Linked DNA regions of Homo sapiens: regions 2, 3, 4, 5, 6 and 7 are each linked to region 1. Evidence: promoter capture Hi-C in 16 types of primary human blood cells and fetal thymus (Javierre and others, 2016). All regions are on one chromosome and are shown on one strand. The core of a region is centred on a gene start or on the middle of the fragment in contact, and the rest is flanking DNA. Distances in the headings are between cores, read along the strand shown.

What was found. The method cuts DNA at HindIII sites, captures the fragments that hold promoters and counts their contacts. A CHiCAGO score of 5 or more calls a contact.
Region 2: the fragment with the promoter of IGSF8 here is called in contact with a fragment that was not itself captured in region 1 in 1 of 17 cell types (neutrophils); the score reaches 5.3 in neutrophils.
Region 3: the fragment with the promoter of KCNJ9 here is called in contact with a fragment that was not itself captured in region 1 in 2 of 17 cell types (neutrophils and endothelial precursors); the score reaches 6.9 in neutrophils.
Region 4: the fragment with the promoter of PIGM here is called in contact with a fragment that was not itself captured in region 1 in 5 of 17 cell types (M2 macrophages, endothelial precursors, neutrophils and 2 more); the score reaches 11.7 in M2 macrophages.
Region 5: a contact is called between the fragment with the promoter of SLAMF9 here and a fragment that was not itself captured in region 1, in 2 of 17 cell types (neutrophils and megakaryocytes). The highest score is 7.4, in neutrophils.
Region 6: a contact is called between the fragment with the promoter of VSIG8 here and a fragment that was not itself captured in region 1, in 5 of 17 cell types (neutrophils, erythroblasts, total CD4 T cells and 2 more). The highest score is 7.0, in neutrophils.
Region 7: a contact is called between the fragment with the promoter of SLAMF8 here and a fragment that was not itself captured in region 1, in 2 of 17 cell types (endothelial precursors and erythroblasts). The highest score is 6.7, in endothelial precursors.

Annotation. Positions count from the first base shown.
Region 1 is chr1:159,135,041-159,139,307 of GRCh38, reverse strand. It overlaps a transcript of AIM2 not described here. Among named protein-coding and RNA genes, the nearest start is that of TRR-TCT4-1, 4.5 kb to the left of the region's middle. The HindIII fragment of the contact is 4,258 bases long and covers 161-4,267 here.
Region 2 is chr1:160,096,148-160,100,414 of GRCh38, reverse strand. It overlaps IGSF8 (immunoglobulin superfamily member 8), which reads left to right and starts at 1,796. Exons shown (of 7, transcript NM_052868.6): 1 at 1,796-2,006. The coding sequence starts at 1,943. RefSeq lists a silencer at 1,212-2,041 and enhancers at 2,608-3,134, 3,135-3,663, 3,664-4,190. The HindIII fragment of the contact is 5,064 bases long and covers 1-4,267 here.
Region 3 is chr1:160,079,822-160,084,088 of GRCh38, reverse strand. KCNJ9 (potassium inwardly rectifying channel subfamily J member 9) reads right to left here and starts at 2,551. Exons shown (of 3, transcript NM_004983.3): 1 at 2,392-2,551; 2 at 1-172. The coding sequence starts at 58. The HindIII fragment of the contact is 8,750 bases long and covers 1-4,267 here.
Region 4 is chr1:160,029,841-160,034,107 of GRCh38, reverse strand. PIGM (phosphatidylinositol glycan anchor biosynthesis class M) reads left to right here and starts at 2,118. Exons shown (of 1, transcript NM_145167.3): 1 at 2,118-4,267. The coding sequence starts at 2,369. The coding sequence ends at 3,640. The HindIII fragment of the contact is 5,226 bases long and covers 1-4,045 here.
Region 5 is chr1:159,951,714-159,955,980 of GRCh38, reverse strand. It overlaps SLAMF9 (SLAM family member 9), which reads left to right and starts at 1,744. Exons shown (of 4, transcript NM_033438.4): 1 at 1,744-1,889; 2 at 2,328-2,672; 3 at 3,447-3,719; 4 at 4,115-4,267. The coding sequence starts at 1,844. LOC124904438 (a long non-coding RNA gene) reads right to left here. Exons shown (of 3, transcript XR_007066684.1): 3 at 2,319-2,404. The HindIII fragment of the contact is 4,086 bases long and covers 1-3,097 here.
Region 6 is chr1:159,860,578-159,864,844 of GRCh38, reverse strand. VSIG8 (V-set and immunoglobulin domain containing 8) reads left to right here and starts at 2,188. Exons shown (of 7, transcript NM_001013661.1): 1 at 2,188-2,372. The coding sequence starts at 2,324. LOC107985216 (a long non-coding RNA gene) reads right to left here. Exons shown (of 2, transcript XR_001738263.2): 2 at 1-4,199. RefSeq lists enhancers at 1,860-2,772, 2,773-3,687. The HindIII fragment of the contact is 16,901 bases long and covers 1-4,267 here.
Region 7 is chr1:159,824,686-159,828,952 of GRCh38, reverse strand. SLAMF8 (SLAM family member 8) reads right to left here and starts at 2,080. Exons shown (of 5, transcript NM_020125.3): 1 at 2,015-2,080. The coding sequence starts at 2,054. The HindIII fragment of the contact is 24,464 bases long and covers 1-4,267 here.

The DNA.
Region 1 (4,267 bases), core at 1,040-3,539:
ATGCCACCCTGTGCTACCCTAAGAGGTCTGATTGGAGTTTTCTAGCTGGCAGGATCCTTCAGAGAGCATGTGGTCCCTCTGTGCCTTAGATAGGAGACTTTATCTCAGCCAAGTAGGTAGAGGGTCCTCCTGGCTACCCCACTCAAGGGAACTAGAAGCTTCTGCTTATTTAACTATTGCCTAGCCTTCAACTCTCTTCATCCTGAGGGGTGGTGTTTTGGAGACTTGAAGGATATCACCAGGACTGGGGAAAAGATTTTCCACATGAGTAAAAATTCTTCTGTGTGTGATAACAATTTTCTTCTGAATACATAAGGGATATCTCCTAATTTATGAATATCATAATTACTGTATTTTAAAGATACTCAGAATGTAAAATAGAAATGGGTGTGTTTTTTATGAAGTCACTTCACTGTAGGACTCAAATACTTCAGAGATGCTGGAGCTGATCATTAATTGAAAAGTATGCGGGCAGGATATGTGTTATTTATTATTGTATTCTCAGTGCCTGAAATATGGTAGGCATTTGATGGATATATTTGAAAGAATTAATGCTGACTTCAATTGACTATAAATTATATAGATAGGAAAGAGAAAGAGATTACTCCTAGCTTCCAGGGAGCAGGAGCACAGACAGTATCTTCAGGCATTAATTCACTTATTTAACAAATATTCATCAAGCACCCACTTCATGCCACTTCCCATTATTCCAGGCACCAAAATAGTAGATTCCACCTTCTTCATGGAATACATATTCCCATGATGAAGACAAATGACAGACAGGTAAATAAATATTATAATAGCTAATAGCATTTTAGGTAGTGATATGTACTATGGAGGAATTTAAAGGATGCTTGGGGATGGAGAGTGATGTGATGAATGATGGTTGTGGAAGACCTCTCAGAGGAGGTGGCTTTTGAGTGAAGACCTGAGTGAAGTGAGGGCAATGAGATTTAGGGGATGGGCATTTCAAACAGAGAAACAGCAAGAGCAGAGACTCTGATGTGGGCACCAGCCTGATTGGAAAGCTGACAGGTCAGTGTGGTGGAGTGGGAGGGAGTGATGGGAAGAGTTGGGATTAGAGTTTGATACAGGGCACACCATCTAGGACAATGTTCTCAACCCTATGACATCCAACTCTGCCTTGTTAGGTCCATTATTTCTTCAATTCTTCTCTACTAACCTGCAATGAAATTCATAGATAACATAACTTTCCCATGCCCATAATGAAAACTAATCAATATAATACCCTAATTGTAATGTAAGAGAGGAATAAAAAGAAATAAACTTATAATAAATAGTATACATTTTAGTACATAAATGCCATACCAGCACCCTTGCACCTATATGAAGACCCACCCTGAACGCAACAGCTACATATGCAGACCAGTGCAGGCATGCTGCACTGCTGACTTAAATCTCATGAGGGATGTCGTTCACCAGCAGCGTCCTGGTTTTCCAGACTGGTGAACACTTTTGGATACATTTTTGATCAAAGCAAAGTAAGTCTTCTTGCAAAATGCGCAGTACTTTGCATTCCTGGAAAATTTAGGAAGTTTTAAATCATGCAGAAAACTCTCTAACATATAAAAACAAGTTAGACTCTAAGCTCAGATACCAACACATAGGTTTTATTTTTGTTCGTTTGTTTGAGATGGAGTCTCGCTCTGTCACCCAGGCTGGAGTGCAGTGGCATGATCTCAGCTCACTGCAACCTCCACCTCCTGGGTTCAAGCCATTCTCCTGCCTCAGCCTCCTGAGTAGCTGGGAGTACAGACGCGCACCAACATGCCCGGCTAATTTTTGTATTTTTAGTAGAGATGGGGTTTCACCATGTTGGCCAGGCTGGTCTTGAACTCCTTAGATCAAGTGATCCACCCGCCTCAGCCTCCCAAAGTGCTGGGATTACAGGTGTGAGCCACCACGCCCAGCCCCAGCACGTAGGTTTTAATAGGTCATTCAGGAGTATACATCATGGGTCAATTCCTCTTTGTGAGAGATGCCCTTACACATTCTGGGACTCTTAAGTCCAGCATGCTCTTCCTCTCTACAGCTAACCGTGGCCCCCAATCATTATAACAACAAAAACTATTCCATCAAATTTTCAAACCACTTCTGAGGGGCAATTCTAGTGCCACTGGCAATCACTGACATAAGGCTTGGAGGTGAGGCTTTTCTAAATGTTAGTGAGCACCACTGATGAGTTTGAGTGGAGGTTCTGGTTTCTATGTTAAAAGGCAAATTTTATCTGTTGGTAGAGAACAGACAGAGATAGAATAGACAGGTAGAGAATAGAGTCAGATATGTAGGCAGGTTTAGAGGTCTCCTGGGCCCAAAGCCTTTAGAAGCAGCAAGCTGTGGCACGGTGATTCCCAAGCCGTAGTGCTGTACCACCAGAGGTGGAGGGTTTTGTAACAGTCCACCTACAAAAGTGATTTATCATCTCTGGAGAGCTTACCTGGCCGAGATCACTTATTTTTAAACTAGTTATTTTTATTTATTGTCATTACAATAGTTATTACCTAATGGTAAAAATGTTCATTTTGCTTATATGTAAAGCTGTAGCAAATAGACCTTATCCCAGAAAACATGATTGCAGTGTTTATGTCCTTAGTACTTGCTATAAATTATAATGGAATAGAATATCTTTGAACTATGTGCTCCTTGGAAGTTAGTTGGATCTCTTTGCTTCCATGGTGGTAATATTGTTCAGTGATGATTCTTTTGAGAGAATGAATGGTGAGAAATGGCGTATTATGATAAGGGAAGTTGATAACCATGAGCATAGTAGAAGCAGCAACTTCATGGTAATGACACAGATCTGAGTCTGAATCTGAGGTCTCGCTATTTACTTGTATGAATGTAGACATGCACTAAGTCTAAGTCCCTTGATTTTCTCATCTAGTAAATGATCTAACTAATACCTAGAATTAAATAGGGTAAGCTGTAAAATTGTCGAGGTAGATACATAGGAGGTGCAAACACAAATGCTAACCTCCTTGTTTGTAGTTATTCTTTCTAAACCTTCAGATTGTATGGATCAAGCTAGTTTCTTGGAGGCTGTGCGTGAGGACTTGAGAGATTTTATCTGTGGCCCATGTTTCTAACCATCTTCTTCTTCAAGCGGAGTCCTAGTGGAAGTCAAGACATGCATAATGTATTTTAAATAGTAGTTACCCTCCAAGAGTACGTTCTGCCCATAGTGATCACTGTAAAAGGCCTAGATTTTTCTCTAGGGCTACGAGCAGAGAAGTCCTACAACAATCCTCAGATTCTAGTCCCCGTGGAAAGGGTCGTGTTAGGACTTCTCTGCGTGGGGCAATGCCGGGCTTTAAAGCCTGGGATGAGGGCGAGTGTGTCTATTTTGAGAAGGCAGGTTGGTGTCTACAGAGATGGAATTAGACTAAAAACAAATGCCTGGGGAGCTGGGAAGAGACAGGAGACGAGGGCTTGGCTGTTGTATTCCAGGACAAATCTTTTTCTGGGTGAATTCCTTGCTGTGGACCCAGCTCAGTCCTGAATCTGAAGGGAGCATCTTCTGGCAATCACTAACAATTGCTGATAACTTGTCTTCCTTTGCTACATCTATAGACCACTTTTAAATAAGGAAATGGTACCATCCAAAATATCCGACTGCTTAGAACAAGTTATATTATTTTGAGGGAGCATGAAACTTAAAAAAATTTTCTATTATGTATAAACTTCTAACGGTGCTTTTTAAGGTTTGTGCTTAAGCATGTCTCTAATGGCTGAGGAGAGTGATGGCTTACTTCCAGGTTCAGGAAGCCGGGCCTCAAGTGGCCTGTACTAAGCACAGCATTTCTCTGAAGTCGTAGACTTTATGCTACATTCTAGATTTAGGGTTCTATTTCATTATGTCTGCATTTTTAAAATACAAAAATAATAATCTGGCTCCAAATATTAGAGTAAAAGTGATGCCTGGCATGCCCCACATATGGGATCCTGGCATGCATAAATTATAAAAGCACAGAACTATATTAATATTAAAAATGAGGGGTAGTCCCTGATTATCCACTCAGAGATGAAGGTGAAAGTAATCTAGAGACAGGTTAAATAGAGGGAAAACTGACAGAGTTGAATGAATAATAATCATTAATTCATTTACTCACTCAACAAATGCTTATAGTACCTGCTGTGTGCTAAGAACTGAGCGAGGTACAATGATGAACAAATGAGACAGAGGTGATCACAGAAAAACATGTAAAGCTGCAATGGTAAATGAAGGAGAGATCCATGGAGCAAAGAA
Region 2 (4,267 bases), core at 547-3,046, 960 kb before region 1:
GAGTTTCAGTTTTCACATAGCTCGATATGCCTGTGGATGGATTTAGATGATGAGGTTCTGGAGCAACCTTCTGGATATTTCAAAGTGGGAATAAACAGGCACCTTATTGCCCTGTTCATGGGCCAGTGCTGGCAGTCCTGGGAAGTGAGGGCTGGACCTCTGATCTCCCTTCAAGGCCTCAGTTTCTCTGGTTTCTCCAGGGTTCCTCAATGTGGCTTCTACTGGCAACCCCGTGAGCATCTTCTCAGAGTCAGGCACTGTGCCACGCTTGAGGAATACCATGTCAAGGAAGGTCTGGTCTGGCCTGTGCCACTTACCCTCTCTGGGCCTCAGTTTCCTCTTCTGTAAAGGGGGGTGAGTGAGTGGGAGGGAAGGGGGATGAGAGGGGAGAGGGAGGATGTTGGAGGGTAGAGGGTGGTAAATGGGCTCTGGGGTCACCTCCCACTGACAGCCACTCTGACAGCCTTGGCTTTGCAAACCTGGCCATCTCTTCTCCCCATTCTGGTCTCATCCTTCCTGCCCCTGCCCACTTCCCATCTTTACAGTTCAGGAAGAGACAGAGCACCTGGGAAGGGTGCCTCCTCCATTCTCCCACCTCCAGGGCAAGCCCCACTCTTCCTAGAACAGAGCAATGTTCATCTCTTCCCACTGTCACTGAACATAGAGACTCCTTCACCTAAATGCCAGGTCTAAACTAAGCCTCTTAGGAAGCAGTTCAAATAATAATTCAAAACCTAAAACAAAATAATCCTTATCTCCCATTTTGTGTTAGTTTCCTGTGCCAAACACTTTATGTACATTACCTATCATCACAATAACCCTTTGGGTGATGTGATCAACCTCAATTCAATTTGCAGAGGAGAAAACTGAAGTTGAAGGAGGTTAAACAACTGGGCTAGGATCACCCAACCCAGAAATGACGTCACATGGACGGCCCCCTCTCCTAATCCATTTTTCTTTTGGTTTTGCCCTCTGAGGGGGTGAAAAACAGGTCTCCAGTGACCTTCTGGATCCTGGAAGCGCCCTTCAGCTCAAACCCTTCGCATTCAGGAACTCCTGGCTTCCGCCAACCCCTACTTCAGCAGGGTTTGCAGCGAGGACTATGGCTCAGAGCAAATAACTGAATTCTAAATGCGTGGTCACAGTCACCTCGCCAATCCCAGGGACCCTGCACCCAACTCTCCAGGAAAGGCTGGCAGGTGCGGGGTGGAATGCGCTCTGTGCGAGGGTGGGTGGGAATTTCGATGCGCAGAGGTGCAGTTAGCTCACTCCTGCGGGGGCCTCGGGCGGAGCCAGGGCCAGGGGCGGGGCGAGGCCGGGGTCCAGGGCGGAGCCAGGATTGGAGGCTGACGTTAGCCCTGCGGGGACGGGGAAGGGGTGCGGCTTGGGACTGGGGCGGGGCCGGGGCCCGGGGAGGAGCCAGGATTGGAGTCCGACTGTAGTCCTGGTGGGGCGGGGCGGGGGAGGGGCCGGAACTGGGGCTGGGCCGAGGCCCGGGGCGGATCCAGGGCTGGAGTCTTGGCGGGGCGGGGCGGGGAGGGGCGGGGCCGGGGCGGGGCTGGGACTCGATGCGACTCAAAGGTGAGTTTCGAGGGGCGGGGCGGGGCCGGGGCCAGGTGCGGAGCAAAGGCCGGAGTCTGGCGGGGGTGGGGCAGGCAGGGCCAAGGCTGGGTCCGGGGCGGGGCGGGCCTAGACGGGGCGGTGGAAGGGGCGGTGCCGGGGCGGGCCGGGGCGAGAATGGTTTCAGAACTGCCGAGGGCTGGAGGGAAAGCAGCGGGAGGGGCGGAGGGAGGGGATTCGGCAGCTCCAGTTCAGCTCGCTCGGCGCACCCACGCCTCGCTGCCCCGCTTCCTGCCCTCAACCTGGGCATGCGCCCCCCACCCTTCCGGCCCCCCAGAACCCGCGCCATCCCCCGGAGCCTCCCCAGAGCTGGCCGCGCAGGATGGGCGCCCTCAGGCCCACGCTGCTGCCGCCTTCGCTGCCGCTGCTGCTGCTGCTAATGCTAGGTAAGCCAGGCCCCCGTTCCGGTTCCCGGCCCTGCCGGGCAGGTGCCTGCCATCCAGCACCCCCCTAGCATTTCGGGGCTCCTCACATCCTCCTCCGTCAGGGGTACCTCCAGCCTCCCCGGGGTCGGCGTCCAGCTGCGCTTTGTGGCTGTCCGCCGAGCCAGTCTTGGGAAGAGTGCAGGCTCCCCAGCTCTAAGCCAGGGACTGGGGCGTAGAGAGGACCCACTAAGGTGCTGCCCCAGGCACTGCTCGGCCTCCCGGGGCAGGCCACACATCTCAGCTAGCATACCCACGTACTGGGGTCGCTGCACCAAATGCTGCGACTCCTTTCTGCCCCACACTCAGCTCCAGGCCTGGCCTTGGGTGCCCGCCCTACGAGGGCAGTGCCTGCCCAGCTTCATAATTGCCCCAGAGTTGGCTGGAGGCCCAGAGGCCAGTTCTGCCCACGATCTTTGAAGTAAGTCTCTCCCAGTTGCGCTCCACGCACTTCATCAACTGGGGGCAGTTCCCTCTCTCACCCCCATCTCCACCCTGGGTTGGGTCCCTCTTTGCCCTTCTTCCTGTCTCCCAAATGGCACTTGGCTCTGCAGCCACCCATCAGTTTTCACACCGCTTAGTTCCAGCTTCCTTGCCTCAGGAGAAACCAGGTTCCATGGAGACTGATCCTGGGATCTCCAAGCACCTTGTGCCTGCTGTGGTGGGTGTTCATGGTGGGGTGTTCTGGGCCAATCTTGCATGGATGCATGGGGATAATGACAGTGGAATTGTTTTTGGCCTGAACTGGAGGGCTCCCTGTAGGAGGTGGTCTGGGGAAGAGTATGGCATGGAGACAGTGAAACTGCCAGTACAGATGTTGATGAGGCTGAAGCCCTTGAAATGAGAGTGAAGCGTGGGGGTGGGGATGGTGACTTCAGAGCTGCTGTCGTCAAGGCAGAGGCTGAAGGTAGCCCCAGCTGCCTGTTTCTAGACCAGAGCTCCACAGTGGCACCAAGCAAAGCCTTCCCCTGCTGCAGGTCCCTGGGCCCTGCAGGGTTAGGATGAGTCCTCTCCCTGGTCCCTGGGCAGGTGGCAGGAGGATGTACAGAGAGGAAGGCGCTGTGGGGCCTGGGTTGCCTAGCACTTGGTGTGTTTTCCCCAGTGGGCAGCATGGAGCAGGGAGGAGCCCAGGGAGGTGGGGAAGTGCTGGCCTGTGTTTGAAAAAGGAGCACGCAGAGGTCTGAGCACCCACTGCCTGTGGGCACTTACATTCATTTCACAAATGAGGAAAATGAAGTAACTTGCCCCAGAGAGCACATTTAGTGAGTGTTGGGGCTAGGATTTGAACACAGATCTGATTCCAAAGCAGGCCTCTTTGCTGTCCCTTTCCTTGCTGCGACTGATACAGAGGAGGGGAGAGAGAGCTGTGTGGCAACTGATTTCCTAAGGCTGTGGAGGTGACTTTCCCATGGGCATCTCCAAGCATCAGCAGTTGTGGAGCCAGGAAAATGGGAGGGGGCCTTCTGAGCAGTCTGCCCTGAGGCAGTCAGGGAAGGTGTCAGCTTGGCTGTCTCCACCGTCACTCTGATTATGAAACTTGCCTGGCCTGGGGCAGGGCTCTCCTGAGTCACATACGCACTCACACATGGTCAGAGCTGGAGCTCTTAGTTCTCCTCCAGTGTGGAAACTGAGGCCTAGGACAGAAAGAGACTGGATCCCAGGCCACACAGCTGGGCATGGGGATGGTGCTGGAATCCCACTTCCTGACTGGCAGCTGTGCCCTTAACAACAGACCATGAGTTCTCCCTGTGACCCAGCCAGAGGATGAAGGAAGGGGCTAGGAGCCCAGAAGCAGGGGTGGGGAAGTTCAGAGGAGCCGTTCTAGAGAAGCTGGAGGGTAGAGTTTGACCACAGACTCCTGGGCATTTTCCTCTAGCTCCTGCAGAAAGTCCATGGTATCCCCCTGGGAGGCCTAAAAGTGACACTCTGGTTGGTGAGGTCAGTCCCTTCAGGCCTGGCCTTGGAGTTTCCCCATCTTCCTCTCTGGTTTTGCCCCTCTGGAGGAGTGTGTGGAAGCCATCTAGGGACAGCATGATCTTGGCTAACATATTATACTTTTCCTGCCTTACCTTTCTCATCTGTAAAATTGGGAGAGGTGGGGAGGGGTGGCCTAGCCCTCTTTACATTGAGGTTCTGTGATCTTATCTAGTGGGAGCTATGGAAGGAAAGAAGGGAGGAGCTAAGCCCTCTAAGTCTGCCAGGAGTATCTGCTGGGGTAGGGTTGG
Region 3 (4,267 bases), core at 1,302-3,801, 940 kb before region 1:
CGCGGCGCCGCGGCGGCTCCTCCTGCCCGGGCGAGAAGGCCGCGTTCTCCTGCGCCATGGCGGCCGCGTCAGGGCGAGCGCTGCGGGCGCCTGGAGTGCGGCGGGGGCCCGAGCTGCTGCCACCTGCCGCGCGTCGCTGGGCGCCTAGGCGGCGTCGGGGGTCCTGGAGGGGCTTAATAAAGGTTTGCCGAATGAGTGGCCCCTCGGGAGATGGGGAGGCACGGGGCATCAGGGCCAGCACCGAGCCCTGGGGGGCCCTGGGCGAGTCCCTTCGTGTTGCCTGGCCTCTATTTCTGGGAATAACACATTCAGCCCTAACTGCCCCCCAGGCTCAGAAAGTTGTGAGGGTCAAATGGAATGATGTACCTGAACTGGATAGAACTGTGCAAGTTCCACGATGATTTTCAGGGGAAGGAGGTACCAGATATTTTGGTGCCATCACCTCCAGCTGGGGTGTGCAGCACCTCAGGGGCAGCCCCGGGGCCAAAGACCCAGGCCCAGATCCCCCTAGTGATTTCCTGAAATCAATAGACTGGGGGCTTTTTGGGGAGGGGGGCAGGCGGGTAATGGAGCCCTCCCTGCCCTAAGGACTTCCACCATCCCTTCCCCAGCTGTAGCCAGTGCAGCCACCAATGGCTCTCCTCGCAGGCTGTTTTGAAGTTCACCCCAAGACTGATACACAGTCTTTCTCATTCTTCCCTCCTTGGACCTCACTCACTCCGCTCCATTCCCTCCCCTCAACATGCTTACAAACGAGAAAGAAATGAAAGCTGTGGAAAGTCAGTGGAAACCCTCCAGTGCACAAGGGTGGAACATTAGGAAATTCCCACTAGAAATCCTCCCTGAGACCTACCCACGATCACTGCTGCTCTTGGGCCAGCCTCATTTCCCTTGGGTTTTTTCTCCTAGTGGAGACAGCCTGCAAATGGGGAGGGGAACTGGAAGATCCCAACACAGAAGCCTGGGAAAGGAAGCCCAGAGTTATAAAGAGTTAGGCTCGTATCCCTCTGGGATCCTATTCTTCATGAGAGACATGGAATCAGATCAGGTGAAGCACTAAGCACCCACATTTATTTCCCCACTCCCTCTAGTTATATTTTCCCCCAGCCTCTTACTTCCCATGGACTATCCTAACACCAGCCCCGCCCCCACCTGCCATATGCCCCAAAGCCCACATTCCAAGCGAAGCCCACCTGATTTTTCTTCACATGCTTGCCTCTGAGGAGCTCTCTGAGCTGCAATCTGCTCTGAGAGAGGTCCAGAGCCCTTCCCCAAAGCACCCAGGGTCCTCTAGGAGATATGGACCATACAGGGAAAGGTTTAGAATAGGATTTGGGACTCTTCCACCTTCCCTTCTCTTTCCTGGGAATGATCCTCTCCTCCCACTCCACGGAAACGTGGGCTGGCTAGTGGGTGGGGGATGGAGGAGTGTGCCATAGGAACCACAGATGGCCTGGATGGTTGACCAGGTCCTGGGGAGAAACTGCCTGGGTATGTGACTCTAAACCTAGCACTCCAGCATCTTATGTTCTGGGGTGAGGTCCTCTGCAGTCAGCACTCTGGAGAGGGTGTGTGTGTGTGTGTTTGTGTGTCTTGGGGTAGAGAAGGTAGGAAGAGAAATCAAAATGAAATGGCTTTGAGCTTAGGGGCACCCCCTGCATTTATTGTCCATGGAGTCAGGGGACACAGGGTCCAAGAGCCCCATGGCAATGGAAGATTAGGGTTTCCCCTGCCCCCAACAATGGGCTTCCTTTTCCTTCCCTGAAGCTCAGATGTCCTCAGGAAGAGTAAGCATTGACTGGCTCAGAGACCCCAGGTCATGCAGAAAACGACCCTGCTCCCATTATCCTAGCTTTAGTCCCAGGTGGGCTTCCAGATGTTCTCTCAGGGTCTTAGGTAATCTGACCCCCAGTCGGCTTGCCTAGACAGATCTCTCTGCCCAGGGATGGGGAAGGAACCCCGATGTCGGATCACCCCCAGAACTCTCTCACTCTCCATTGCCCCAGGGATCTAGGTAAACCTTATTTTGAATGTGTCCCACATCCTGTCTTCCTGAGTGGGGGACTGCACTTTTCTCAGGGGAAGGAAAAGTGTGAAATTGTTACCTCTATCTCAAGATCAAGGACTTGATTTCTCCATCTTCCCTCCAAGAATTTCAGTTCCTCCAACCTACTCCTCATTTCTTGTGCATGCTATGACCCCTTTGCAGAAGATTGCAATACCACTTTTCCTGGGCCCCTCTTCCTCCCTCTAGAGAGCTGGGGAGTAAGGGGGCTCATTTTTTGGAAGGAGAGACCTGGTGAAAACTCCCCCAAGAACCAGCTCCTCCCAAACCCCCACTTGCCTTGGAAATAGGGGCCCAAACCCCAAGTCCCCCGCAACTCAACTCACAGCACGTGGAGAGGAGAGTAGCCGGCAGCAGAGACCCCTGGGGGGTGGCGTCCATGCCCCTGACACCGCCCCCCCCACGGGCCCCCCGAAGGGTGGGAGCCGCAGACACCGCTGTTTCTCCTAAATGTAGCGGCAGCTCTGACTAGGACTTGCTATCTGTGTCATCCCTACTTCCCAGGCTCCCCTGCTCCTCTCTTGTTTCCACGGCAACCAGTCTGGCGACAGCTCCAGAGCATCCCCCTCCCCTCCCCAGTCCTGGGTACCACTAGGGGTTGATCCAAACCACACGCCATAGCTATTTTTAGCCAAAGTCCCTCCTCCTGGACAACTCAGAGCTTGGCTCCTCACCCCCTCATAGGAAAAAAAAAAAAAGAAGAAGAAAGAAAAACAAAGCTGGCACGCTGGCTCTTTCCTAAGAAGCTCCTTCCTGGGGGAAAATACAAGCCCTCATGTATTTGAGAATAAGGTGCTAGGTTCCCTGGGGTTTCAGAGGGCCATCTGGTAGCTGGCAGCTCACCACCTTCAACATGGGTCTCTGCGTGCAGGTGCTGCTCTCAGGTCAGGCTGACCATCATGGTCTAGTTTTGGAGAGGCCATGGATCCAGAAGGCGGTAGCTAGAAGGAAAATAGATCTACTAAAGGAAGGGAGGCAGGGTCAGGGGTTCTAATTATTGCCACTGATTTGCACTGTGTCCCATAGGAGTCACTTCACTTCCCTGAGCCACAGTTATTCCATCTGTACCAGGGTGTGGACAAGAGCAAATATCCCCTTTCTGCCTGCTTCACAGAGTCAGCAGATCAAACGAAGAAAAAACAAACAAACAAAAACCAAAAAAACCACAAAGGGCTTTGAAATGTGTTTTATTCATAGCAAAAACCCTAGAAACAACCCAAATGTCCACCAGAGAGAAAAGCCTAGGTTAGGGCTTACTAAGTATTCACTCGGCAAACTTCTGCGGAGCCCAAGTGCCAGGCAGTGTGTTAGATGGGGTGGTTACAGAATGGGTGAGTCCCTGCCCACAAGGAGCTCATTAACCCAGGAGGGATAAAGACACACAAACACACAGTGGCTGCTGCTACTAATTCACTGAGCATGGGATATGAACGAGACACATGCCTCATGTCATCCCCATGGCAACTCTATAAGACAGGTGTTATTTTTCCCAGTTATAGATGAGGAAACTGAAACAGAGACATGTTAAGTAATTTATCGAATGTCACAGAGTTGGGCAGAGACAGGAGCCAAACTCCCACATCTGTATCACCTCATGCTTTGTAAATTGTTTTAAAAGAAGACTTCTTAAAGGGTAGTTTTAGATTCAGAGCAAAACTGAGAGGAAAGTTATAGAGATTTTCCGTATGCCCCCTGTCCCCACACATCCACCAGAATGGCACATTTGTTACAAGTGATGAAGCTACATTGACATCATAATCGCCCAAAGTCCATAGCTGACATTAGGGTTCACTTTTGGTGTTGTACACTCTGTGGGTTTGGACAAATATATAATGATGTGTATCCACCATTATAGTCTCATTGCTGTAAAAGTCCTCTATGCTCTGCCTAGTCAATCCCCCTTCCCTAACCCCTGGCAACAACTGCTCTTTTTCCTGTTTCCATAATTTTCCTTTTCCAGAATGTCATGTCGTTGGAATTGTACAATATGTAGCCATTTCAAATTGGCTTCTTTCACTTAGTAATGTAAATTTAAGGTTCCTCCATGTCTTTTCATGGCTTTGTAGTTCATTTCTTTTTGGCACTGAATAATATTCCATTTCAGGATGGCCATGGTTTATTTATCTATTTACCTACTGAAGGACATCTCGGTTGCTTTCAAGATTTGGCCATGATGAATACAGCTGCTATAAACATCCATCG
Region 4 (4,267 bases), core at 869-3,368, 890 kb before region 1:
CTACCTCCCATATTTTCTATCTTAGGGAACTAAGCCTCACTTATCTATTATTTGCAGAAGAAAAGAATAAATCAGAGGTAGAAAGAGTCACAGTGAGAGAGAATATCCAGAATATCAAGATGAGAGATCAATAAGAGAAAACATAGGAAAATTAGAATTTGTGATCAACATTTTATTGGCAAGTCAGCCACATAATGATTAAGATATTCTAGGTCAGACAGACTGGGTTTTGAGTTCTAGCACTGTCACTAGTTAGCTATGTGACTTGGGAAAATTACTTAATCTCCATAAGCCTTGGTTTTCTTCATTTGTAAAGGTGGGAATATCTACCTTACATGAAAAGTACTTAGCATAATGCCTGGTACATTGCAAATGAGTCCTCAACAAATCCAGCTATTATAAATAATAGTAATCATCATCATCATAATCATCATTATATGAGTGGTGATGTGCTGCCACTATATATATGGCTAATATACTGCAAAAAAATGGTTAGAATTATCAATCTAAGGCATGTAATGATACCAAGGCATATAAAAGGACATAGAGCTATCACAATATGAATATGGAATATATAAGATTAACACAGTTCATCTCCAAGGGATAAATTGAAGTGTAGGATGGATGAGCAGCAGGTAGTTCTGGGAGCTGCATGTTCAGACTGCATGAAGTCACCTCCTTTTCCTTATTCTAGTCTAGAAGACTTCCCCTAGGAAGCAGGCTTATTCTATAAAATCCAATTAGTCAGTATTTACTAAGCATTTACCATGTGCCTAAGACTACAATAAATTACACATAATTGAAAAAAATTAAGGATAAGATATAATTTCTACCCCCAAGAACCCTATAATCTCTTGTGAGGGCTATGAATACAATCTAAAATAAAGTATCAAATTCTACAATGCGGACTATGTAAGTGCACTAAGTAACCACGGAAAGGGAAGAGCTAATGGGTTACAGTCCTTGGCAAGAAATTCATGGAAGTAGGGTTGGAGTGGGGTGGGGGGAGCAGGGGACCTTGACATACATAAAGGATATTTAAAAGGGAAAATAACTGGGAGTTGGGAGCAATCCAAAGATGCCACTCTAGAAATATTCTGGTAGGAGGAACCTCTAAAATCAATTCAACTTTACTGAATGGCTACTAGTACTGTGTTAGATGTTGAGGTAGAGAAAAGAACAAGATAATCTCTGATACCGAAGAATTGAAAGTGTCCTGATGGAAAACTAGGAGAGCAAAACAAACAAAAACAGTTATTACAAAGCAGTGTGACAAATGCTGTAACAAAGGAATGACCAGGGAGTTCTGGAGCACTGGGAGAACTTTTAGTAGCATGGCAGGGTCTTCTGTGTGAGTGATTTTCTGGAACTTAGATCCCGTCCGCCCCAGTCTACCTATCCTCGGACAGGGGAGGGGACTGGCATCTAAGTCATTCATTCTGCGTGATGAGGAAGTGAGTGGGAGCTGGGAGCTAACACTTGCACTGATGCCTGAAGGGTTGAGTAGGTATTTGCCAGAGTGATTGGAGAGCGGATGGCAACTTTGACAGAAGAAATAGCAAATACAGAGATACTGAGGCATAAGGGGCTGACAAGTTAAGGAATTTTGTGACGCTTTCCTGTCTTCTTTCCCATCACCTTCACCTAGGGTTGCCGGATAAAATACAAGCTGCCCACTTAAATCTGAATCTCTGATTACCAACTAGTAATTTAAAAATATAAGTATGCCTCCAATATTGCATGGAACATACACACTCAGCCCCCTTCAACTCATCCTGTCCTGTCCGGGGCCCACAAATCCCCGGTGAATACCGGCGAGCTAGTGGAGTAAAGCATGAGAAGGCTTATCTTCCTTTCACTCCTACATTTTTCACTCTCGGATCTCCAGCCCAGGACTGAAGGATGTAGCGCGCAGCCCGCAGCTCGCTGCTCGTCGGAGGGTTTTCCTCTGAGGACTGGAAATGGGGCGCGGGAAGAGGGCGGGGGGCGGCGGGCTGTCACTTACAAAGAAATCTCACTCCACTCCATAAAATCCTCAAGCCAGTGCCGGATTTCCCGGCAAGCGGACGTCTCCCCTCCCACGGACCGGAAATCCCGCCTCCGCTGGAAGAAGAAGCGGAAGCGAGACCGTCCATCCAGAGGAAGGCAAGTTTTTGGCTCGGGCGGCTGAGAAGACCGCGCGGGGCTGGAGACAGGTAGCAGTACGGGGGCGGGGCTTCATGCCGGATGTGATAGTCTGCAGTCGTTTCGGTTGGCAGCCTGGCGGGTGGGAGATGCGGCGGCCACCTGCTGCAAAGAACCGAAGGGAAGGTTAGAAGTACGAAGGCAGTTTGGAGCTGGGGCTAAGCAGCTGTCGCACGGTCAGATCATGGGCTCCACCAAGCACTGGGGCGAATGGCTCCTGAACTTGAAGGTGGCTCCAGCCGGCGTCTTTGGTGTGGCCTTTCTAGCCAGAGTCGCCCTGGTTTTCTATGGCGTCTTCCAGGACCGGACCCTGCACGTGAGGTATACGGACATCGACTACCAGGTCTTCACCGACGCCGCGCGCTTCGTCACGGAGGGGCGCTCGCCTTACCTGAGAGCCACGTACCGTTACACCCCGCTGCTGGGTTGGCTCCTCACTCCCAACATCTACCTCAGCGAGCTCTTTGGAAAGTTTCTCTTCATCAGCTGCGACCTCCTCACCGCTTTCCTCTTATACCGCCTGCTGCTGCTGAAGGGGCTGGGGCGCCGCCAGGCTTGTGGCTACTGTGTCTTTTGGCTTCTTAACCCCCTGCCTATGGCAGTATCCAGCCGCGGTAATGCGGACTCTATTGTCGCCTCCCTGGTCCTGATGGTCCTCTACTTGATAAAGAAAAGACTCGTCGCGTGTGCAGCTGTATTCTATGGTTTCGCGGTGCATATGAAGATATATCCAGTGACTTACATCCTTCCCATAACCCTCCACCTGCTTCCAGATCGCGACAATGACAAAAGCCTCCGTCAATTCCGGTACACTTTCCAGGCTTGTTTGTACGAGCTCCTGAAAAGGCTGTGTAATCGGGCTGTGCTGCTGTTTGTAGCAGTTGCTGGACTCACGTTTTTTGCCCTGAGCTTTGGTTTTTACTATGAGTACGGCTGGGAATTTTTGGAACACACCTACTTTTATCACCTGACTAGGCGGGATATCCGTCACAACTTTTCTCCGTACTTCTACATGCTGTATTTGACTGCAGAGAGCAAGTGGAGTTTTTCCCTGGGAATTGCTGCATTCCTGCCACAGCTCATCTTGCTTTCAGCTGTGTCTTTCGCCTATTACAGAGACCTCGTTTTTTGTTGTTTTCTTCATACGTCCATTTTTGTGACTTTTAACAAAGTCTGCACCTCCCAGTACTTTCTTTGGTACCTCTGCTTACTGCCTCTTGTGATGCCACTAGTCAGAATGCCTTGGAAAAGAGCTGTAGTTCTCCTAATGTTATGGTTTATAGGGCAGGCCATGTGGCTGGCTCCTGCCTATGTTCTAGAGTTTCAAGGAAAGAACACCTTTCTGTTTATTTGGTTAGCTGGTTTGTTCTTTCTTCTTATCAATTGTTCCATCCTGATTCAAATTATTTCCCATTACAAAGAAGAACCCCTGACAGAGAGAATCAAATATGACTAGTGTATGTTCCACACCCTCTGCTACTGTGTTACATTCTGATTGTCTTGTATGGACCAGAAGAGAGCTTTGGGACATTTTTTCTGAACATTCTAAGCATTCTAGTGAAAGTTCCCATGTTCCAACAGAACTTAAAAGCAATGTTTGCCTTATATATAAAAGGGACACAATAATTGAGGTCCACCTTCTAGGAAATCCTAGGACTCGTTTATTTGGGACATGGTGGGAATAAAGGTCACATATTGGAAAATGGAAAGGCTGATGAAACTATCAGATACTAAAACATTCTTAAAATAGAGGAATATAGTTAGAGACATCAGGTTTAAGCCAGTATTTGTTCCTGTTTTACAATGCTTCTGTCTTAAGCTGTGTCTTAACTTTTAACACCCATCTTTTCTTTCTAAAGCTTTCCTGACAGCTGTGAAAATCCAAAAAATATTCTTAAACTGTGTATGGTGGCCCTTGCCTGTAGTCTCAGCACTTTGGGAGGCTGAGGTGGGAGGGTCGCTTGAGTTCAGGAGTTCTAGACCCACCTGGGGCAAGATGGTGAGACCTAGTCTCAAAAAAAAAAAAAAAAATTAGCCAGGTGTTGTGGTGCACCCCTGTAGTCATAGCTGCATGGGAGGCTGA
Region 5 (4,267 bases), core at 495-2,994, 820 kb before region 1:
TCTAATTTTATTTGTTAAACAGATTTATTACATAAAAACGTTTTATACTCAGACTGAAATCTGGTTCACCTTTAAGAAAAAATTCTAATCCCTCAGGTTTTATACTCATAAATTGAAATTTAAGAACTACTCACTTCATTATCTTCTTCACTAAGCAGATTCTACCAATCTTTGAAGAACTAAGGTCTCATCTTAAATATCTCTCCTTGATAGCTTTTCCCCAACCCTCCTGACTCCAACTTTGCCAAATCGCCTTATTATAGGCTCCTTCAATTATTCCTTTGGTAAGATTCATCAAACTTGTAGTTACTTGTCCAATGTCAATTGTTAGCATTATGAGCTCCATGAAGTCACGATCTAAAATTCTTGGTCACTGTTAATTCCCCAGCACTTAAGACAGTGTATGGACCATAGAAGCTACTCAATAAACATTTAACAGATTTCTGAATTTGCTAACCTAAAACTAGGAAATGTTGGCACAAGACCAAAGCTGAATACGTCTTCCTCTATTGTTCCCTTGGTCTTGAGACACCACTCTTCACAGCACAGACTCATAAAATTGATTATTAGAAGAAACTTAAAGATTATCCAGTCTGAGAATCCATCTGATGGCAGAGATGTTGCAGATAATCCAAGCAAGTGATTGTCCTCTTAGCTTGAATACTAGGGACAGAAGCTACTTTCTAAGGCAGCCCATTGCATCCAGAACAGCTTTGACTGCCAGGAAGCTATTTAATAACCCTGATCCTCTGCAGTCTCTTCTTGAATCTGAATTCATATAAGTTGATCAACATTGTATTCTCACAAAACGATTTAAAGTCTTTTCATAATATGAACAACATAGATCAACTCTCTGATCAAACTACTTTTTTTTTTCTTCTCTCTTTTTTTTTTTTTTGCTTTGAGACAGAGTCTTGCTCTGTCACCCAGGCTGGAGTGCAGTGGCACAATCTTGGCTCTCTGCAACCTCCACCTCCTGGGTTCAAGTGATTCTCTTGCCTCAGCCTCCTGAGTAGCTGGCATACAGGGGCACGCCACCATGCCCAGCTAATTTTTGTATTTTTAGTAGAGACGGGGTTTCACCATGTTGGCCAGGCTGGTCTCAAACTCCTGACCTCAGGTGATCTGCCTGCCTCGGCCTCCCAAAGTGCTGGGATTCCAGATGTGAGCCATTGCACCCGGCCAAACTGCTTTCTTAAAGAGGATTGAATCAAATGTTTTTCCCCTGCGAATAGCCTCTCAGGTGGGAACATAACTAGCTTTAAATAAAAAGGCTTAATCATTCATCCATTATAAAGCTATCAATTGAGTGCAGACACATGTCTAGTATGGGGCCAGCAATAATGGGACATACACAGGAAATGAAAGATGAAGTCTGTCTGGGGAGATATAGATGTTTATAAGATCAAATGATCACAGCAACATAGGAATTACCCAGAGAGAGCTAGGGAAGAATATCCTGGGAGCCAAATAACAGGATAGGGAATGTTCTACGAGTTCGGGGCATGCAGTACGTGCGGGGACCTGGGGCGGGTAGGAAGTCTTGAAAGACTTCATTTAGGAAGTGGGATTTGGGCTGAGTTTGGTGGATGGCATCATGAGTCAGTGAGTAAACTGTCATGACAATCAGGATCTGAAAGAGAACTAAGAGAGCCATGATACATAGGGAGGGGCTTAGTGAGGACAGAGGACGTCAGAGGGCTGTAGTCAGGGGAAAATTATTTCCCTTTTCTCAGGACCATCAGTCAGGCTCTTTGTGTCTAGGAGCCTCCTAATGCAGTCTTCTGCACAGTCCTGGGGACTGACTGACTGAATCACACCTCTGGGGCTGGGGGCTGCTGACATGTGTGCCTTTCCTTGGCTGCTTCTTCTCCTGCTGCTCCAGGAGGGTGAGTGAAGCTGCCAGCTCGTGCACAGGAATGTCCCCTACACCTCTGTTCCCCTGCCCCACTGGGTCTGGGCCAGTAAGACCCTTTCTTAGGGGTTGAATGTGTCAGCTCTTCTGGAGTTACAAGGAGTAGGGTGTGTGGCTTCAGGGCAGGACCGAGAGACACCTGGGGATATGGAAGAAAGAGCAATCCCAAGATGGCAAAGGAGAAGGTAAAACTTGGAGGGTGAAGGGACAGATGGAAGCAAACTCCTTTTAGGTGCTTAACTCAGGGAAAGGGGAAATCTAGAGTCAGAAGCAGCAGCTGGAGAACAGGATTTAGTGTGAGAGTCATAGAAGCTGCCCAGCTGAGATTACGCTACTCTGGCAGCTCCACTGCCAGGTTCAGCAGCCCAGAGACAGCAGCTGGGTTGTTTGCTTCTCTTTTCTTCCTGCATAGGCAGCCAAAGGAGACTCTGGAGATGGTGTGGATCCGAGGAAGTGGTTGCGGTCCTTCAGGAGTCCATCAGCCTCCCCCTGGAAATACCACCAGATGAAGAGGTTGAGAACATCATCTGGTCCTCTCACAAAAGTCTTGCCACTGTGGTGCCAGGGAAAGAGGGACATCCAGCTACCATCATGGTGACCAATCCACACTACCAGGGCCAAGTGAGCTTCCTGGACCCCAGCTATTCCCTGCATATCAGCAATCTGAGCTGGGAGGATTCAGGGCTTTACCAAGCTCAAGTCAACCTGAGAACATCCCAGATCTCTACCATGCAGCAGTACAATATATGTGTCTACCGTGAGTTTAGGCTGGGAACCATAAAGCTGGTTTTGGGGGCTCTTCTGAGCTTCTCACACCATGGAGTGGGCGTCTCAGGACTTGGGGTTATGGTTTGAGGGGCTAGAACTGGAGGCAGACTGTCTCCAATCTAGATACTGTGATTGAGTGTGCCCAATCCACCTGTTGTATCTGAACCGCAGCAACAGGCGGAGTGACCTGGAGCAAGGAGGCTGTCCGATGCAGTGGCAGGGATCAGGGGCTTCATGTACAGATCCTGTAGGGGGCTTTTCTCTTCCAGTGAAATTGTGTTCTGGGGATGAACACCACCTACATTCTTGAGCCTTTTATTTCCCTGTGTGATGAGGGCTACTAATGAGTATCTTCTCTTTACTTGAACCCAAATTTCTTCTTAGTGTCTGTCACACTGCATCTACCTTGAAGCTTGAAGGGACACTGATTAAAATGTAAATGCCCCTGAGAGGGGCGATAATATTTCATGGGATCAAGGAGACAGAATGGGGTTTGGAGGAAGGTAGAGTACAAAAGTAAGAGAGAGAATACGTAAAGGGGAGGTGGAAGATGCCAAAGGCAGCTCTGTCTTCCTTGACAGTTGCCTTGGGGACCTTGAAACCACAGGTTTTATGGTGGTTGGGTTTGTTTGCTTTTGCCTATTTGTTGTTTAGGTGCAGGGGCTGTCAAGGGGTAGCATTAGTACCCCAGGTTTGAGGAGCTTAGGAAAACAGACCCGATCCCTGATTGTTTAGAGGGTCTTTGTGTTTCCCCTTCATCCAGGATGGCTGTCAGAGCCCCAGATCACTGTGAACTTTGAGAGTTCTGGGGAAGGTGCCTGCAGTATGTCCCTGGTGTGCTCTGTGGAGAAGGCAGGCATGGATATGACCTACAGCTGGCTCTCCCGGGGGGATAGCACTTATACATTCCATGAAGGCCCTGTCCTCAGCACATCCTGGAGGCCGGGGGACAGTGCCCTCTCCTACACCTGCAGAGCCAACAACCCCATCAGCAACGTCAGTTCTTGCCCCATCCCTGATGGGCCCTTCTATGCAGGTACCAGAACCCCTGAGACACCCCCTGAGCTCATGAAAGATAGTGCCTAGAGGCACCATCTCCCTCCCCCAGCTCTTCCCAAGAGAGCCCAGGGAATTCAGAAGCTAACCCCCTCCCATGGAGGCTTGACACCTGGATTGGAGAGGAGACCCTCCGTTTTTCTAGTGCCCCCAACTTCCAAAGGTCTTTTCTTTTCTCTTGCTTGGCTTCAGAATGATTCCTAGATCTCAGTTCCTGAGCTTCTGTGCATAGAATATATTTCCAGAGACACTTGCAAGGGGACTTCAACTGATTGTGAACTTGAGACCCCTTCATGAAATTTGGGTAGGAGTCTGCCCAAATCTTAACCCCAACCCTACCACTGATGGGCCCTTTCCTCCTTTCTTCCACCCCAGATCCTAACTATGCTTCTGAGAAGCCTTCAACAGCCTTCTGCCTCCTGGCCAAGGGATTGCTCATCTTCTTGCTCTTGGTAATTCTGGCCATGGGACTCTGGGTCATCCGAGTCCAGAAAAGACACAAAATGCCAAGGATGAAGAAACTCATGA
Region 6 (4,267 bases), core at 939-3,438, 730 kb before region 1:
TGGGACCCCAATCAACATGTGCCATTAGTAGTCTCCCCGCACTAAGGATTGAAAATTCTAGCCAAACCTGGATTTAGCAGATGGAGGCTGAAGTCTTTCTATATTAGAAATAAAACCTCATCTTTGATCCCCATCAACTCCCGCTGCTTACGTGTCTTTAAACCATGTTCCAACCCTAACCACAGCCTATTTCAATGTGAATCTCAAACTTAGTTCTAACCCAATGCTAAATCAATCTAAACCCAGCCTTTGATTTAGCCCTAACTGTATTCCCAGGCAGAGCTGTAAATGAAACTAAAACTCTATTCCTTATCGTAACACAAATCCCAGCCATAAACCTGAGCCTCAATTCTAGCTGTATTTCTAACCCTAATCCCAACCTTAACTCTAATCCCAACCTCAAATCTGACCTCAACCTCATTCATAATTCAACTAACCCCAAACTTAACCCCAGCTCTAACATTAGCCCACATCCAGAACCCAATTAAATCTGAAGCCTGCACTGTAGTTTAGTGGAACCACAATGTTACTGCTTTCTCCTCAATCTCTCTGTTCGTGGTCTGACCTGTTTTCCCTCCCACTCACCCTGACCTTCCATGGTTCTTGTTCGTGAGTGGGTCTAGTAATCCACAGGATCACCAAGACCATTTTTTGGACCTCTCTGGACTGACACCCTGGGTACCTGGGTATCCCAGCTTAGGCACCAGCCGCATTGGCTGAATCCCCATGTTTCTCCAGGTCTCTGTTTCCCCATCTGTAAAATGGGGATAATGATCCCTGCTCTTCAAAGGGAGCAGGACAATCCCATAAACCTAAAAATAAATAAGGAAATAAAGATATTCATTGTGTACATCTGGTAGGTCTCAGAGCGCCCTGTTATTGTTGGGAGTTCAGGTGCAACGGCTTGGAATGCAGAGACGCGTGGACTCCTTGTGTTTCCTTAATGTTCTGACTTATTTTTCCCCAGAGGGGTGGGCCCTGGCAGCATCCCTGAGCCCCATAACTCTCCCTAACACTCTTCCTCCTCTGCCCTTTCTGTGCCCCATGGTAGGGATGGGGGCAGTCCCTGACTCCTTTGAGGGAGTTGAGCTATTGAATGGGGTCACTCATGTCCTGACTCCCACCATGGAGTCCAACAAGGCACATGCCCATTCTGTCCCCCTTAGACAAGCCAACAAGGGGTGGCCCTTCACTTGCTCCCCATGCCTACCAGGACCCTCCCCACCCCAGCACGAACTTACCCAGAACTGTGCTGGTTTAGTCAGCCCGATGACCAGTCCAGGTTATGAGGGTCCTTGGTCTCAAGGACCCAGTTAATACTGGGACTGCATTAACCCTCAAGACCTGGCTACTCTTTCTGGGCAGAGAAGCCAGGACACCAAGCGATCCCTCAAGAAGTTCACTCAGAGGGGCTTAGCCATCCTCACAGAGACACCCTGACACAGACATCCTGCCTCCCTCCCACAGACATTGCTGAGGGGTGCACACGCTTACACAGGCACCCCCTTCCCTGGTCCTCTTGGCGCTGTTCTCTCCAACACTCCCTCACTAGCCCATCAGTCACCTTACTCCTAGCACACACCCTGGACCCCCCATAGCACCCCTGCTCCCAGGGGTCCCCTACACTTGGGGATGGCCTTGAGTCGAGTATGGGTGTGGAGGACAGTTCCAGAGGGGACAGCCAGGAGGAGACTCTGTTCCTGCACACACCCCTTCTCTCCTCTTTCAGCTCAGGAGGCCTGAGTCCCTTTGAAAGGCCTGAAGCCTGGGGGAAGGTGGGCTGGACACTCCTGGGGAACCCTATGCCCTGGGATCAGGATTAACTCTTCAGGTCCTGGCCACTCTTTCTCCCAAGCCTGGCTTCTCCTTCCTCTTCCCCACTTCCCCCAGGGAAGGAGGCAGCAAATGAGTGGTGAGGGGAGCCCTTGGAAGCTGTAAATGAGGTGACTGTTGTCACCCTGAGGATGTGGCCAGGAGGAAGTGAAGTTTAACAGGTGCCTAATTACAAGTCCCGCTGGCTGTCCTGTGCCACTCTTAGGACAGGGAAGAGCTTGGGTGAGGGCTGGGTAATGCCCAGGTAGGCCACCCTGTCACCCTGCTAATTAGGGTTCCTGGGACTCCTCCCCAAGGCGGGGACCAGGCCCCCTCCCTCCCATAGAAATAACTCCAGCTGCTCCCCAGCTGGGCACTCATTGCACCTTCCTGCCACCCCAGGCAGTGTCTGGGCCCTCAGCTCCCCCTCCCTCCACCTACCCCCTCACACCCACCACTACGACCCCACGGGATACCCAGCCCAGACGGAGGAAACACCGAGCCTAGAGACATGAGAGTTGGAGGAGCATTCCACCTTCTACTCGTGTGCCTGAGCCCAGGTACGGGGCTGGGCAGGGGGCAGGGTAGCCAGCATGAGGCTAGGTGGGAAGGAAAGGGGCAGCAAGGGCTCACAGTGGAGCCTGGGGCTGCCTGAGTTGCCTGGCAGGGTGCTGCCCACCCTTGCCCTGCTGCAGCCGGGTGTGGGTATTACCAGGGGACCTTTCCCCAGGAGACCCTGTGCCTGATGTTCAGGGTGTGTGTCTGTAGTGCAGAGGTCTTTGAGTGGATCTTTATATGTCCCCTGTCGGGCTCACACATGTGTGCAGGTGCCCTGCAAGCTCATGCCGTGACTAGGAGGAGAGGGATTGATTGCTCTGCAGGAGCTGGAGGTGGGGTAGGAGAGGGGTAAGCACGGGCATTGGGTGAGGGCTCAGGAGGAGCTTGGGAAGGATCAATTTTCATCAGACTGTGTGCTATTCCCAACGCTACTCCTTCTCTCCCAAGGCCAGGGCCAAGGGGCAGGGAAGTCACTTGCCTTGAAAGGGCAAGAGACTAAGTCTGGTGTAAGTCTGAGTGGTTTCTTCCATCATGGCCAGTGACAGCTCAGGCCTGAGACCTCAGCCTTGGGCCCCCTGTGCTATGACAGGGCAGTGCCCCACTCTAGGATGAGGCCTGAGGGTGGTGGGGATGGCAACTCCAGAGACTTCTCACCCCACCAGGACAGGTCCACAGGGCAGGGCTCAAGTTTGGACATTGTGGCTTCCTGCCCAGGTTGGGGCAAGTTCCACCAAGGGGCATTCTATGCCAACATCACTGGAAAGGGCTCCGAGTCCCTCTTGCAGTCTGGATTTGGGATGAAGGGGCATGAAGGAGGAATTTGGGAAGGCGGGGTGACATTTTCAGCCTTTGTGTGAGCGTGAATGTGTATGTGAGTGTGTGGGTGCGTGCACCTGCATGGGAATGATGACATTTCCGGCAGGATAGCTGCAGCCCTTCTCTGTCTGATGAGAGCAGGGCTGGCAGAGTCCACTCGGGAGGCTCCAGCTGTGCTGTGGGGACCCGGACTTCCCCCTGTGTGGTGTGTCAATGGGTGTGTGAGGACAACTCAGCACTGGCTGCATTAACGCATCAATACCCTCAGCTGGAGCCGCCTTTTCTCCCCTCCCTTACCTCCAGAGGGAAGATCAGGAGTTCTGGAAGCACCTTGAAGATTCAGAAAGAATTTGCAAGCAGAGAGTAGGCACCACTATTGAGATGACACCCCGTAAAGCATGGCCAGTTTCTGGTGCTTTTGGGGGGCAAAGAATCACCACTGTCCTCTTCCTTGGAGAGCCCATGTGATTCCTCCATTCCTGTCTCTCCTCAAGTCTCCCATCCAGCTCTCTCTTCCACTTTGCCTTTCTTCCCTCTCTCCAGCCTCTCCTCTCACATTCCCTGTAGTACTTCCTTAGTGCTACAGCAAGAGGAATCAAGGTGAGACATTAGGAGCAACTTCCCAAGGAGAGGGAGGGGTGCGGAAAGGCTGGAACCCTTGGGAGGAGGTTGAGAAGACTTCTAAGGAGATAGAAAAGCTGGGTGAGGCTCCCTGGTCTGGGACAATTGAAGAATCTCTCAGCCTGGTGCAGGGTGGAGGTGCTTTTCTTGCAGCCTGTCGCTCCTTCCCAAGCCCCTCTCCCTGAATGCTTACCATCCTGCCTGGCAGGCTCCTATGGCATGGAGAGAGTCCTTCCTGTGTGGGTGCTTCCAGCGGTGCTTCTCCAGGGTGGAGCCTCTGCTCTCAGCCGAGTTCTGGCTCATCCCTGGCTTGCCTTGAGCAGCCTCAGGATCTGGCAGATGGCAGCAGGATCCTTATCTCAGGAATGAGCTGTTGTTCTCTTGGCCTGGAGCTGGAAGAGGCATCACTAGGTCCCGTTAGAGCCCCAGCAGTCAGCCTGCCTGCTCTGGGTCACCTTGG
Region 7 (4,267 bases), core at 831-3,330, 690 kb before region 1:
AGAACAGGAGGAGAAACAGACAGGGGGTGAGAAAGCAAGATGCTGTTTTGGGGGACTATATTTGAGTCAGACGTGTATGGGAGACGCTTCTCCTTGAAGTGCCCCCCTGACTCCTTTGCTGACTAATTTCTGCCCACTCTTGTAGCATCACTGCCTCCTCCGACCTCCCCTATCCCTCATAGGTAATGTAACCAAGAGAGGTTACATATTCTCTCTTGTGTTCTCACAGTGGCCTGGGGCCACCATGCTGACTACCCTTATCCCTCTATTCTTATTGCCTGTTTATGAGTCAGCATCTCCCACTAGACCGTGAGCTCTTTCTCCCCATCGTTTGCTTCCAGTGCCCACCACTGTTTAAGAACAGACTGTGGGAGAAGCCTAGTAAATGGTATTGAATAAATGACCTACCCTGCTGAGGACTGACCCTATGCCTGTCGCTGGCACAGGGTGTAGGGAAGAATAAGAGGTGATGAAGTTTTGGTCAATGAGACATGATCTGGATGGTTGCTCAGTCGGCCATGATAATTCCGGTCCCCCTCTGCCTCACTGTCCTCCAGGCCCAACAACCTCCTCTCACACTGGAGATGACTTCAGTGTTAATGCAGAGCAGGAATGTAACACACAAAGAGAATTGCACTGGATGTCAGCCAAGACCTAGCTGCTCCTACCTGCTCCTCCTGGTGCTGCCACAGATCAGCTGTGTGCCCTTCCACACATCACCCTGCCCCAGGCTTCAGTACCACTGAAAAATAAGGGGTCTGTACCAGGTCAGTCACACAGATCTTTGATCATTAAGGGCCATTTGAAAAATTATTTTTGGGCTGGGTGTGGTGGCTCATGCCTGTAATTCCAGCACTTTGGGAGGCTGAGGAGGGCGGATCACTTGAGGTCAGGAGTTTGAGACCAGCCTGGTCAACATGATGAAACCCTGTCTCTACTAAAAATACAAACATTAGCCGGGTTTAGTGGCAGTGACCTGTAATCCCAGCTACTCAGGAGGCTGAGACAGGAGAATCGCTTGAACCCAGGAGGCAGAGGTTACAGTGAGCTGAGATGCACCATTGCATTCCAGCCTGGGTGACAGAGCAAGACTCCGTCTCAAAGAAAAAAAAAAAAGGCAAATTATTTTTGTCTCACCAAACAGACCAAGGCCTTTTTTGAGGTTAAGGTGTGATTTCCTGCACATGTTTAGAAATATTGAAGAAATCTGCAGGCTTTGGAGCTCTCAGGGCCAGGAACTCAGGCAAGGAGATGAAACAAAGCAACCCAAAGTCCCTATGAGCCTCTGATGTAAACAATATCATCTTAATCTTTGCTGCACCCCATAAACCCTCATCCATGGCCCGGCAGTGTTGACCCATGTCATGTTGGCTGCTTGTTGACCAAGGAAGGGAACTCAGGCATCAGATGGATAGAGGGATCGCCCGGTGTGGAGGAGACCCCGTGTATCAGCCATCCCAACATCACACCACCGTCGGCCACCCCTAAGTCCACGTGGGCCACATTTAGCCTCTCTCATCCCTACTTAGTACTTGCCTCCCCTTATAAAGGCCTGTAGGGAGGGACCTCAGCTCCCCCACAGGCTGTTGAAAACACACTCTGCTGATTGTGGGGAACCCTGCTCTGCCCTGCCCTCTGCTACTCTCCTCAAACTCTGCAGAGTTTCTGCATGCTAACACTGCCGGGTCCTCACCATTCTCACAGCCGACTTTCTCTCCAAACCAGCAGTATCACCCACTGGCTCCGTTTTTACTGCTCTGGGCCACAAAACAGCTCATGTCTCACAGATAAGAATACCCCTCAAGCTGCCACCTCCTCCCTCCCAGGACCCTGCATCTCTTTGTATCTGCCTAGCTTAAAATGTTGCCCAAGAGCTTGTTCTAGTCTTTCCTACCCACCCTCAGCTTCTGGGTTCTCACCCAGGTCGAGGGATCCCTGCCCAGACGTCTGGCATAGGCAGCTGGGGAGGGGCCTTCAGCTCTCCGAGGACAGGCTATCTGCCTGCCCCACTTACCTTCCCAGAGAAGCAGACTCCACAGGGGCCTCATGACCATCTTTCTCTGGAGAGGCAGGCAAACTCCCTCGACAGCCAAAATCCAGAACCTCCCAGGCCGAGTGGATGCACGGGAGGAGCTGTGGTCCTTCTGGAAAGTCCCATGTTCAGAAGGAGGAATCTTGACTCAGAACAGGATGTCCCAAAAGTGAAAACATCCAGAATAAAGTGGAAGTTGTCCCTGGGCCTCTCTGGGCTTACAGGAGCAGATTCTTGTAAGTCAGCCTCTTTCACATGCACATGGTTGGCTAACACGTGGCGACAACAGCCCCCACACAAGCCACATCCTCCTTGCTGGATCTCGCTGGCCTTCCTGCATCTCAGCCTGCCTCACTACTATCTGTCATCCTCATTCTAGCTTAAAATGCTTCTGTGGCCTCCCGTGGACCTGAGGATGAGGACTAACTCTGCTCTGCATGCAGGCCCTCCTGAGTCAGGCCTTCTTCTCCAGGCTGGTCGCCCACAGTCATTCTGCCCTCCAGCCATCCCAAGCCAGAAGGCCTCCTTCTCAGAACTACTGATTTCACACTTCCCTGTGTTGTACTTTCCCCACCACCCCGACTAGGCATGCTGCTCCCTCTATCCTTGCAAACAGAACATGGCTGTGCAGTCGGCGAGGACATCCTTCCAGGCTTCCTGACCACAGGCAGGTGAGAGGCCCTCTCCTTGTGTCCTGTGCATGCCCACACCTCCCTCTTTACTCTTGCTGTGTTGTTGATGACAGTTTTCTGGTTTTCACAGACTGTTTAGCCAGTCTTTTGTTCCCTTCTGTGTTGCCCTCAGTGCTTGGCACATTACAGATGTTTCATGAGTATTTGTTAAGTGAGTGAGTACATTCTAGACATGGCTACACATCTGGCTTTATGTAAGCCTTGCAACTCTCCTCTGAGAGGATCATCTTGTTACCTGGTTAGAAATGGGAAAATGTGAAAACCAGAGTGAGGTTAGGCCCCTTGCAGAGCTCACAGAGAGGCAGAGCTGGAACTTGAACCTCAGCCTTTGAAGTGTGGTCTATTTTGCCACAGTTATCCCCTCCTCATCCTGTTTCTCTTCTCACTTCAAGTTTCTTGGTTTCTTGCCAGTGAAGGTTTTTAGAGGACGTGTTGCCCCTGAGGAAAATTCCTGCTAGTCTGGAGTGTGGCTCATCGTATCTGGTCCTGCACAGCCTCTCGCCTGTCAATCAAACTGGACACTGAGCTTTGGACTCAGCCAGGAACTAGGCATATAGGATGGGGTGGGGGTGGGTGGTGAGCAGGAGGATTTTGGGATAAGGTTTTTGCCCTCCAGGTACTCACAACCAAAATGTAGAGATAGGTACACCAAGGAAAGTGAAGGGTTATCTGCAGACAGACACCACTTTGTGCAAACAGGTAGTCAGTCCTCAGAAGTGGGTGGGAAAGAGGGCTTCGCGGATCTGGGCAGGGGACGCTTCTTGAGAAGGTGGAATTTGAGCTGTGCCTTGAAGATGGGCATGGTTTAGATAATATGAGGAAAGGAGAGAGCCAGAGGTTGGGGGTGGGCTCTGGGCAGGAGGGGAGAGCAGAGCGTGCAGGGATGTGGCTGTGGGAAAATACCAAGTAGGCTCCACAGAGGACAAGGGACAGCAGACAGGAATCCTTTAGGGCTGGGTGGGAAGAATGGAAAAGGAGGTTGGGGGCAGATTGTGGAGGCCTTGAAAACTGGGTTAAGTTCTTCTGGAGACTAGTGGCTCTCAACTGTGTTCAGCACTTGGATTCTCAGAGATGCCATCAGGGTGAGCTAGGGCCCAGGAATCTGTGGTTGTAACAAGCACCCCACTCAGCGTGAGTCTGTGGCTGGTGGACTGGGGGACCGCTCCGGAAGCACTGCTTGAAGAGAGGGGCTGTTGCATGTTTTAAGTAGGAGTGGGAGGACAGCAGGCAGGGCAGGTTGGAGAGAACAAAGGGGCCAGGGAACCTGAACAACAGCTGTTGTCTGTTGTGATGGTCCTGTGAGAAGGAGAAGGGACTGCATATGAAGGAAATGTCTAGAGTACTGAGGAAAGGGCAGAACTGGGAAGCTGCCTGTCATGGGGGTGGAGAGGGCAAGGGAGGGAACTCATTTACGACTCCATTGCCAATTCCGTCATTCATTCCTCAGGCATTTATTGAGCATCTACTTAGGTGCCAGGACCTAGGGACACAGAGATGAAAGGCTCAGCCCCTGACCTTAAGGAGTTCACAGAAGATGGTATAT